Regions from separate parts of the Homo sapiens genome. Here region 1 is linked to region 2. The links are contacts of gene promoters, found by promoter capture Hi-C in blood cells and fetal thymus (Javierre and others, 2016). All regions are on one chromosome and are shown on one strand. Each heading gives the region's core, a stretch centred on a gene start or on the middle of the fragment in contact. The rest is flanking DNA. Distances are from core to core; before and after follow the strand shown. Region 1 holds the start of INCA1 (inhibitor of CDK, cyclin A1 interacting protein 1). Region 2 overlaps ZMYND15 (zinc finger MYND-type containing 15).

The links. The method cuts DNA at HindIII sites, captures the fragments that hold promoters and counts their contacts. A CHiCAGO score of 5 or more calls a contact.
Region 1: a contact is called between the fragment with the promoter of INCA1 here and a fragment that was not itself captured in region 2, in 4 of 17 cell types (monocytes, M1 macrophages, M0 macrophages and 1 more). The highest score is 6.0, in monocytes.

Annotation. Positions count from the first base shown.
Region 1 is chr17:4,996,272-5,000,023 of GRCh38, forward strand. It overlaps INCA1 (inhibitor of CDK, cyclin A1 interacting protein 1), which reads right to left and starts at 1,251. Exons shown (of 7, transcript NM_001394789.1): 1 at 1,225-1,251. KIF1C (kinesin family member 1C) reads left to right here and starts at 1,679. Exons shown (of 23, transcript NM_006612.6): 1 at 1,679-1,885; 2 at 3,579-3,699. RefSeq lists silencers at 992-1,081, 1,122-1,991, 2,042-2,141 and an enhancer at 3,384-3,752. The HindIII fragment of the contact is 6,815 bases long and covers 1-1,837 here.
Region 2 is chr17:4,744,511-4,748,174 of GRCh38, forward strand. ZMYND15 (zinc finger MYND-type containing 15) reads left to right here. Exons shown (of 14, transcript NM_001136046.3): 11 at 115-268; 12 at 360-418; 13 at 705-865; 14 at 1,309-1,603. The coding sequence ends at 1,480. Among named protein-coding and RNA genes, the nearest start is that of CXCL16, 6.4 kb to the left of the region's middle. The HindIII fragment of the contact is 6,114 bases long and covers 1-3,664 here.

The sequences.
Region 1 (3,752 bases), core at 1-2,500, 250 kb after region 2:
AAGGCTGAGGTGGGAGTGTCATCTGAGCCCGGGAGGTCAAGGCTGCAGTGAGGTAAGATCGCACCACTGCACTGCACTCCAGCCTAGGCGTCAGAGTGAGACCCTGTTTCTAAGAAGAAAAAAAAAAAAGCCAGGCGCGGTGGCTCAAGACTGTAATCCCAGCACTTTGGGAGGCTGAGGTGGGCGGATCACTTGAGGTCAGGAGTTCGAGACCAGCCTGGCCAACACAGCGAAACCCAGTCTCTACTAAAAATACAAAAATTAGCCGGGTGTGGTGGCAGGCATCTGTAATCCCAGCTATTCGGGAGGCTGAGGCAGGAGAATCGCTTGAACCCAGGAGGCGGAGGTTGCCGTGAGCCGAGGTCAGCCTGGGCAACAGAGCAAGACTCCGTCTCAAAAAAAAAAAAAAAAAAAAAAAAAGAATACTAGATAAGTTAGGAGAGAGTGCACATAGGCTCCCGAAGGACAGAAGCAGCCAGCTGGAACTGTAGAGGTGAACTAGTATTTATCCAAGGGAACTAGGGATGGGCTGGGAAAGCAGGTGAGGTCAAAAGCGGAGAGAAGTATACCGTGCGGAAGCGGCAGATGGGGCTAGTTGGAGTTGGGCTGAAAGGGCCTAAAGTGGGGTCTAAAGGGGATGTCCTGACTCGGAGGGGGGTCAGCAGAACGCGAGGGAGCAGCGGGAGCTGCGGGGCATTCGGGCCTCAGATAGTTGGGTCCAAGCGGGTGACCTAGATCCAAGGGCAGGATGGAGCTGAAGGAAGCCAGGAAGGATCCTCCACAGTTGACTTCGGGGTAGCCACGGCCTGCGCCTGCGAGGGTGGATGAGGACCCGAGGGTCCGGCTGGGGCTGAGGGGCTGCCTGGAGCCCCGCTGGAGGGAAGCGCCGGGCCGGAGGGCGCGGCCTGCGCCTGAAAGGGCGACGGGGACCCTCGACAGGTGGACCGGGCGTGGCCGGACCTTCCGGGCAGCCCCGCCCGAGGGCACGACTGGGGGCTGCTTCCCTCGAGAGGGGCCCTGAGGTGGTGGGCCCAGGCTGAAGGGCAGGCTGGGGCCTGAGGGACGCCCCGGGTCTGAGAGGGCAGCTCCGGCCTTAGGCGGCACCCGGGCCTGAAGGGGTTGTTTGGGCCTCAGGCGGCGTCCAGGGCGGCCGAACTTGAGGGCCAGGCGGGGACAGAGCGCCCGAGTAGCCGCGCCACGGCCGGCCGCATTTGGCCCCAGCACCTGAAGCAGCTGCGCGGCGAATTCTAGAACTCGGCGGGGCGGGGAGGAGAGAGACGGCGATTCGAGCCGCGGGAGGAGCCGGCGGGCGGTGCTCGTCTGAGGGCGGGGCCTGAGCGGAGCCACCTTCTGGGCGGGCCTCGGCAGGAGGCTCCGCCCCCTGGACGCGCCTCCAACGGCGGCGACGGGAACTGGGCCGGGGCCTGGGTGCCCCCGCGGGTCAGCCCCCGACGTTTCCCTGTTCTTCAGGCGTCTGCAACCCTCCTGGGTTGCGGCGTCTGCTCGCCCTTCTGCGTCCGCAGCTCGGTCCCCACGTTCCCGCTCGCTGGGCCCCACAGGCCAGGAGCGTTGCCCCTTTAACAAGAGTAGCCCGGGTCGCTCCCGGCTCCTTCCCGGGACCGCGCGTACCCGCCCCTCCGCGCGCGCTCGCGCGTCCCCCGCCCCTCGCTCCCGCCCCAGCTCGCGCTGCCCGGGCGGGCGCCGGCCGCTGGCGCCGCTACTGCTGCCGCCCCCGGGGCGCGAGTCCGCCGCCCGCCGCCCGGGCACCCGGCGAGGGGCGGGGGCAGCTCCGAACCGGCCCCAGATCCTTCCCGCTTCCGCCTCACGCTTCCCGGAAAGCTTGTCCCTCTCCGCCGAGCTGCTCCGGGAGCCCCGCCGCGCCGAGGTGAGGGCTGGGGAAGGGGGAGGGAAGGGACGCCCGCGGAGGAATGTGCCGGGTTGGGGGGCGGGGAGCCGGGGTCCGGCGGCGCGATCTAGGCTCAAGAGTCGGGATCATGTGCTGTTTGTTCCGCGGAGGCGCAGAGAGGTGCCAGGCCCGGGCGGCCGCCGGCTGGCTGGACAGGAGGACGGGTCCGCATGGCCGCCCTGAGAGGCCGGGCGGGGACCTGTGTGAGAACCGCCGGGTGGGCAAGGTGCAGGTGGCCCAAGACCCCCTTTCGGGCCGGTCGGCCCCACCCCAGCCGCCCAGTATCCTCCTTGTACCCCACGGCTCCTTCACAGCTGCACCGGCCGACCCCTGTCCCTACCTCTATTCCCTTACCCCGCTGGCCCCCAGCCGTGCCACCCCATCCCTGTCCCATTAGCTGCAGCAACGGCGTCACCATCGCTTGTCCCCACCAGTGTCCTTCCCTCCCCTGGTCAGGGTCTAGGGGGTCAGGGCTGTTCTTCCTGAGCCAGCTTCTGTGATTCCAGCTACTCCCTTCCTGTCCTGGGACAGACCAGCCCCTCACCCTCCCATGCTCTGCCCAGGAAGACTGGTGAGGGGAGGCCCAGCGTGACAGGAGTTTGGGGTCCACTGGGGCCACAGGAGGGGGCTCCGCATCCCTTATCCTTCGTGGTCCTCCTCCCTGTTGTCCGTGGGCGTGGGCTGCTCAGCCTCTCCTCCCAGGGTGTGGGCACCCGATCACCCACATTCCTGGGCTCCAGCCTGGCACCTTCCCCAGGGCAGTGGACGCCATAGCACTAGCCCCAGGTTGGGGCTGGCACCAGCCAGCCGGCTTCCTTTTCTTTCTCCCTTTTAGGGAGGCCCCAGGGACCCTCTACCCTCAAACACAGGTATTTCTGGGCGCCCCAAGGGTGGAGCCCTGAGGGTTGGTCTGATGGCTACAGGATGACCCCACCCTCCCCTGCTCATTGTCCCGGATCCTGAGGAGGAAGTGCTGGGGGCTGGGCAAGGGGCTTAGAGCCCACACAGCTGGCCCTGTGGATCCCAGTCCTGGGCCCTACCTACAGTCCTTGGACTTTGCCCATCTGCACTACTGGCCTGGTGCATGGAGGTTGTGGGCCTCAGGTGGAAACTAGATTCTCCCTTGCCGACACTGTGGGGGAATTTGAGGACAGGTTTTGCATTTGCAGTTTCCTCTCTGGTCTCTCTTCTGGGCTCCCAGTTTGTGCTTTGGCGCCGGAGTTCCCCACCCTGTCTCTTTAACACCGTGTGTTTGCTGTGCTGTGTCTCTTCCTCCTTTCCTCTCCCATTCTTTCCTTCATAGCATGACCTCAGGCTTGCCTTTTGTCTTATTTCTCTAATTTTCTTGGTGTCTGTGACTCTCTGCCCCTCCTCTCTCTCTTCCCACCCCCCTCACGTCTCTGCCCATGTGCCCCTCTCTCTGAATTGCCCTCTGTCCAGCCTCTTTCTCTCTCTGTCCTCTATCTGAACGTTCAGTACATTTGCGAGTGACAAGGAATAAAAATATCACCGTCCCTGCCCTTGGATTCACATTGCATTCAGCCACTCTAGAGGGGCAGCTGTCCGTACTTTTCCTGCTATTCCCCCCGTAACCTTGGCCCTCCAACCTGGGAACCCCAGACGGGTCTCTGGAACCACAGGTGCCTTCTAACAACTCTTCCCCCGCAATCAGGGTATCTCCCAGAGCCCCAGCTGGTGTGGCCAGGCCCCAGGAGTAGGATGGGGCTCCCCCTACGAGGGCCGGTGGCAGCCAGAACTGATACAGCCCCCCTGGTCTGGGGCCAGGACGCCAGGTAACTGGGGGAGACCGCCCAGGTTCCTGCAAGCTGGAATATGGCTGGGGAGA
Region 2 (3,664 bases), core at 94-2,593:
GTGACCTCCTGGTTGGGTCCTGCCCTTCTGCCCCCCACTCCCCATCTTGCCTGGTGCATCCTCCAGTTCCCTGACTTCCAGTGGCTTTTCCACCCCACTCCTGGGGCCCCTCAGGACAGCCTGGAGGTGTCTGTCCGGCCTGGTTCCGGCATATCAGCACGGCCCAGCTCTGGCACTAAGGAGAAAGGGGGCCGCAGGGACCTGCAGATCAAGGTGTCAGCAAGGCCCTACCACCTGTTCCAGGGGCCCAAGCCTGACCTGGTTATTGGTAAAAGCCTGGGTCTCAGGGTTAGGCATGTGGGGAAGGTGGGAGAGAAGCCCACCGTGGGAGCCAGCTTCTCCCTCCTCTCTGTCTGCAGGATTTAACTCCGGGTTTGCTCTCAAGGATACGTGGCTGAGGTCTCTGCCCCGGTTACAGGTGGGCAATGGGGGCAAAAGGGAACTTCTCTCCCCTCCTGCCTGGCCCCTCCCCATCTCCTTTTCTGAAAGTCTCTGGGCTCTCCTCCTCTTCACCATCACCTGCTCCACAAACCTGGGGAGTGCCCACGGGTCCCCCTGCCTCTCTCTGTGTCTGTCTCCGTCCTCCCCCTGCTCCCCTCCGCCCGGTCTGTCCGGGGACCTCGGCTTTCAGCCCGGTCTGTCATTCTGGCTGCTGGGATGGATTTGGGGAGGGGCCTCTCAGAGCGACTCTCGCTCCACCCCAGTCCCTCCGAGTGCCAGCCTTCTTCACCGAGAGCAGCGAGTACAGCTGTGTGATGGACGGCCAGACCATGGCGGTGGCCACTGGAGGGGGCACCAGCCCTCCCCAGCCCAACCCCTTCCGCTCCCCCTTTCGCCTCAGAGCGGCCGACAACTGCATGTCCTGGTAAGGGTCTGCGACCCTATTTCCTTCCTGACCCTTAACTTCTCTTACTCTCTGGCTCCACATCCTCGAAGGCCCACCTCTACCCTAGTCCCTGCTGTCCTGGGGCCCTCCTGCCCCCAGCCCAGCAACCTGCCTTCTCTGTCCCCACTACTCGTCGCCCCCATGGGAGGTCTCGACATCCCCCAGCACACCCCTCTTTAGATCTAGCTCACGGAATCTCCCCAACCCACAAAAGACCCCGCGACCCTCCAACAGACCCAACCCTGAGTCTAGCCCCACGCCCTGGAACTCAGAGGGGCAAGCCCCGCCCCCTGGTCCCTGACCGCCCGGTGGAGCCCCGCCCCCTGGTCCCTGACCGCGCCCCTGGGAGCCCCGACCCCTGGGAGCGCCGACCCCTGGGAGTCCCGCCCCGTGGTCCCTGACTGCGCCCCGCGCCCCCGCAGGTACTGCAATGCCTTCATCTTCCACCTGGTTTACAAGCCTGCTCAAGGGAGCGGGGCCCGCCCGGCGCCCGGGCCCCCACCCCCATCCCCAACTCCCTCTGCTCCTCCTGCCCCCACCCGAAGGCGCCGAGGAGAAAAGAAACCTGGGCGGGGGGCCCGCCGGCGGAAATGAATGCTGATACCCTAGTAGTCCCCAGCTCCCAAACACTGAAAGGAAAACGTGAAAACACTCAAGGCCTAGGGGGAGGACAGGTTGGTAAAACATGAAAAGGTAAATAAAATTACTTGTTTGAAACCACTGAGTCATGGATCTTTTGATTACACGCTCATAATTGGGCCATTAAACTGGGAACGAAGAGAAAGATTTTTTTGTTTGTTTGTTTTTTGAGACGGAGTTTCCCTCTTGTCACCGAGGCTGGAGTGCAGGGGACACGATCTCGGCTCACTGCAACCTCTGCCTCCCGGGTTAAAGCGATTCTCCTGCCTCACCCTCCGGAGCTGGGATTACATGCATGCGCCACCACACCCGGCTAATTTTTGTATTTTTAGTAGAGACAGGGTTTCGCCATATTGGCCAGGCTGGTCTCGAACTCCTGACCTCAGGTGATCCGCCCGCATCGGAAAAGGAGTTAGGGATGACTTACTTTCCCCCAGACCCTTTTAGTCCCCTCAACGGCTGTCATTTCTTTAACTCACAGTCAGGGATTGTGACCCTCCTTGGTAATCCCATGGTTCTCCTAATTATGTGTTGGCTAGTCACTTTCCAGCCCCGGTAACCCTCAGGGACCGGCCCCAAGGCAAGGAAAGTGGCTTCTTCCTGGGGGCGGGAGAAGCAATCAACCTCCTGGGACCACACAGATCCTTGGTTTGGATTCAGTGAAAGGCCCCAGCCACCCAACTCCACCTTTTCTCACCACCTCGTATTCAATAATCAACTCCTGCTGAGCTCTTCTGAAATCACTCAAGTCCATCAAGGTATGTCCATTCCTGCTGCAAACTCCACCGTATCTCATCGCCACATTGCAGCCCAGAGTATTCCTCCTCAAAAAAAGACATCTGAGGGCCGGGCACGGTGGCTCACGCCTATAATCCCAGCACTTTGGGAGGCCGAGGCAGGTGGATCACCTGAAGTCAGGAGTTCGAGACCAGCCTGGCCAACATGGAGAAAACCCCGTCTCTACTAAAAATACAAAATTAGCCGGGCATGGTGGCACATGCCTGTAATCCCAGCTACTTGGGAGGCTGAGGCAGGAGAATCGTTTGAACCTGGGAGGCGGAGGTTGCAGTGAGCCGAGATCGCGTCATTGCACTCCAGCCTGGGGGACAAGAGTGAAACTCCATCTCAAAAAAAAAAAAAAAAGAAAAGAAAAGAAATTAACCGGGTGTGGTGGCATGGGCCTGTAATCCCAGCTACTCAGGTGGTTGAGGCAGGAGAATCATTTGAACCTGAGAGGTGGAGGTGGCAGCCAAGATCGCGCCACTGCACTCCAGCCTGGGTGACAGAGTGAGACTCTGTCTCAAAAAAAAAAAAAAAAGACATCTGACCTCATTTCTCCCTCGCTTCAGTCCCTTCAGTGACTTCCCTTAGCTCTTAACAGTGTGGGCTGCCCTTAATGACTTCAGTCACTGAGTATAGATAGGGAAAAACAGAGGAGAAACCTGGCAGATACCACCTTAACCAAGGGATTAAGGTGAACAATTAAGTCCTGTTGATGTTACTCTTTTTTTTTTTTGAGAAGGAGTCTTGCTCAGTCGCCCAGGCTGGAGTGCAGTGGTGCAATCTCGGCTCACTGCAACCTCCGCCTCCTGGGTTCACGCAATTCTCCTGCCTCAGCCTCCCAAGTAGCTGAGACTACAGGCGCACGCCACCACGCCCAGCTAATTTTTGTATTTTTAGTAGAGACAGGGTTTCACCATGTCGGCCAGGATGGTCTCAATCTCTTGACCTCGTGATCCGCCTGCCTCGGCCTCCCAAAGTGCTGGGATTATAGGCGTGAGCCACCGCACCCAGCCCTGTTGATGTTACTCTTAAGTCTCTTTCATTTTGTAACATACCTCCTTGGCTTTTATTTTTTATTTCATGACACTGATTTGACAAGACACAGAATCATTTGTCCCGTAAAATGTTCCTCACTCAGGAGCTGGCTGATTACTTCCTCAGGGTGTTTTTTCATGTGTTCATTTATCTTCTTCAGTTCCTGTCAACCAGTAGTTAGATCGAGATGACAAGGTTCTGCTGATGTGGTCCCTGCCAACCTCTGCAGGCTGATCTCATGCCATTTCCTTCCCCTGTCAACTCTGCAGCCAGATGCTTCTAAATAAAGACGCGCTCTCTCACTGTGGAACTTCCCATGTG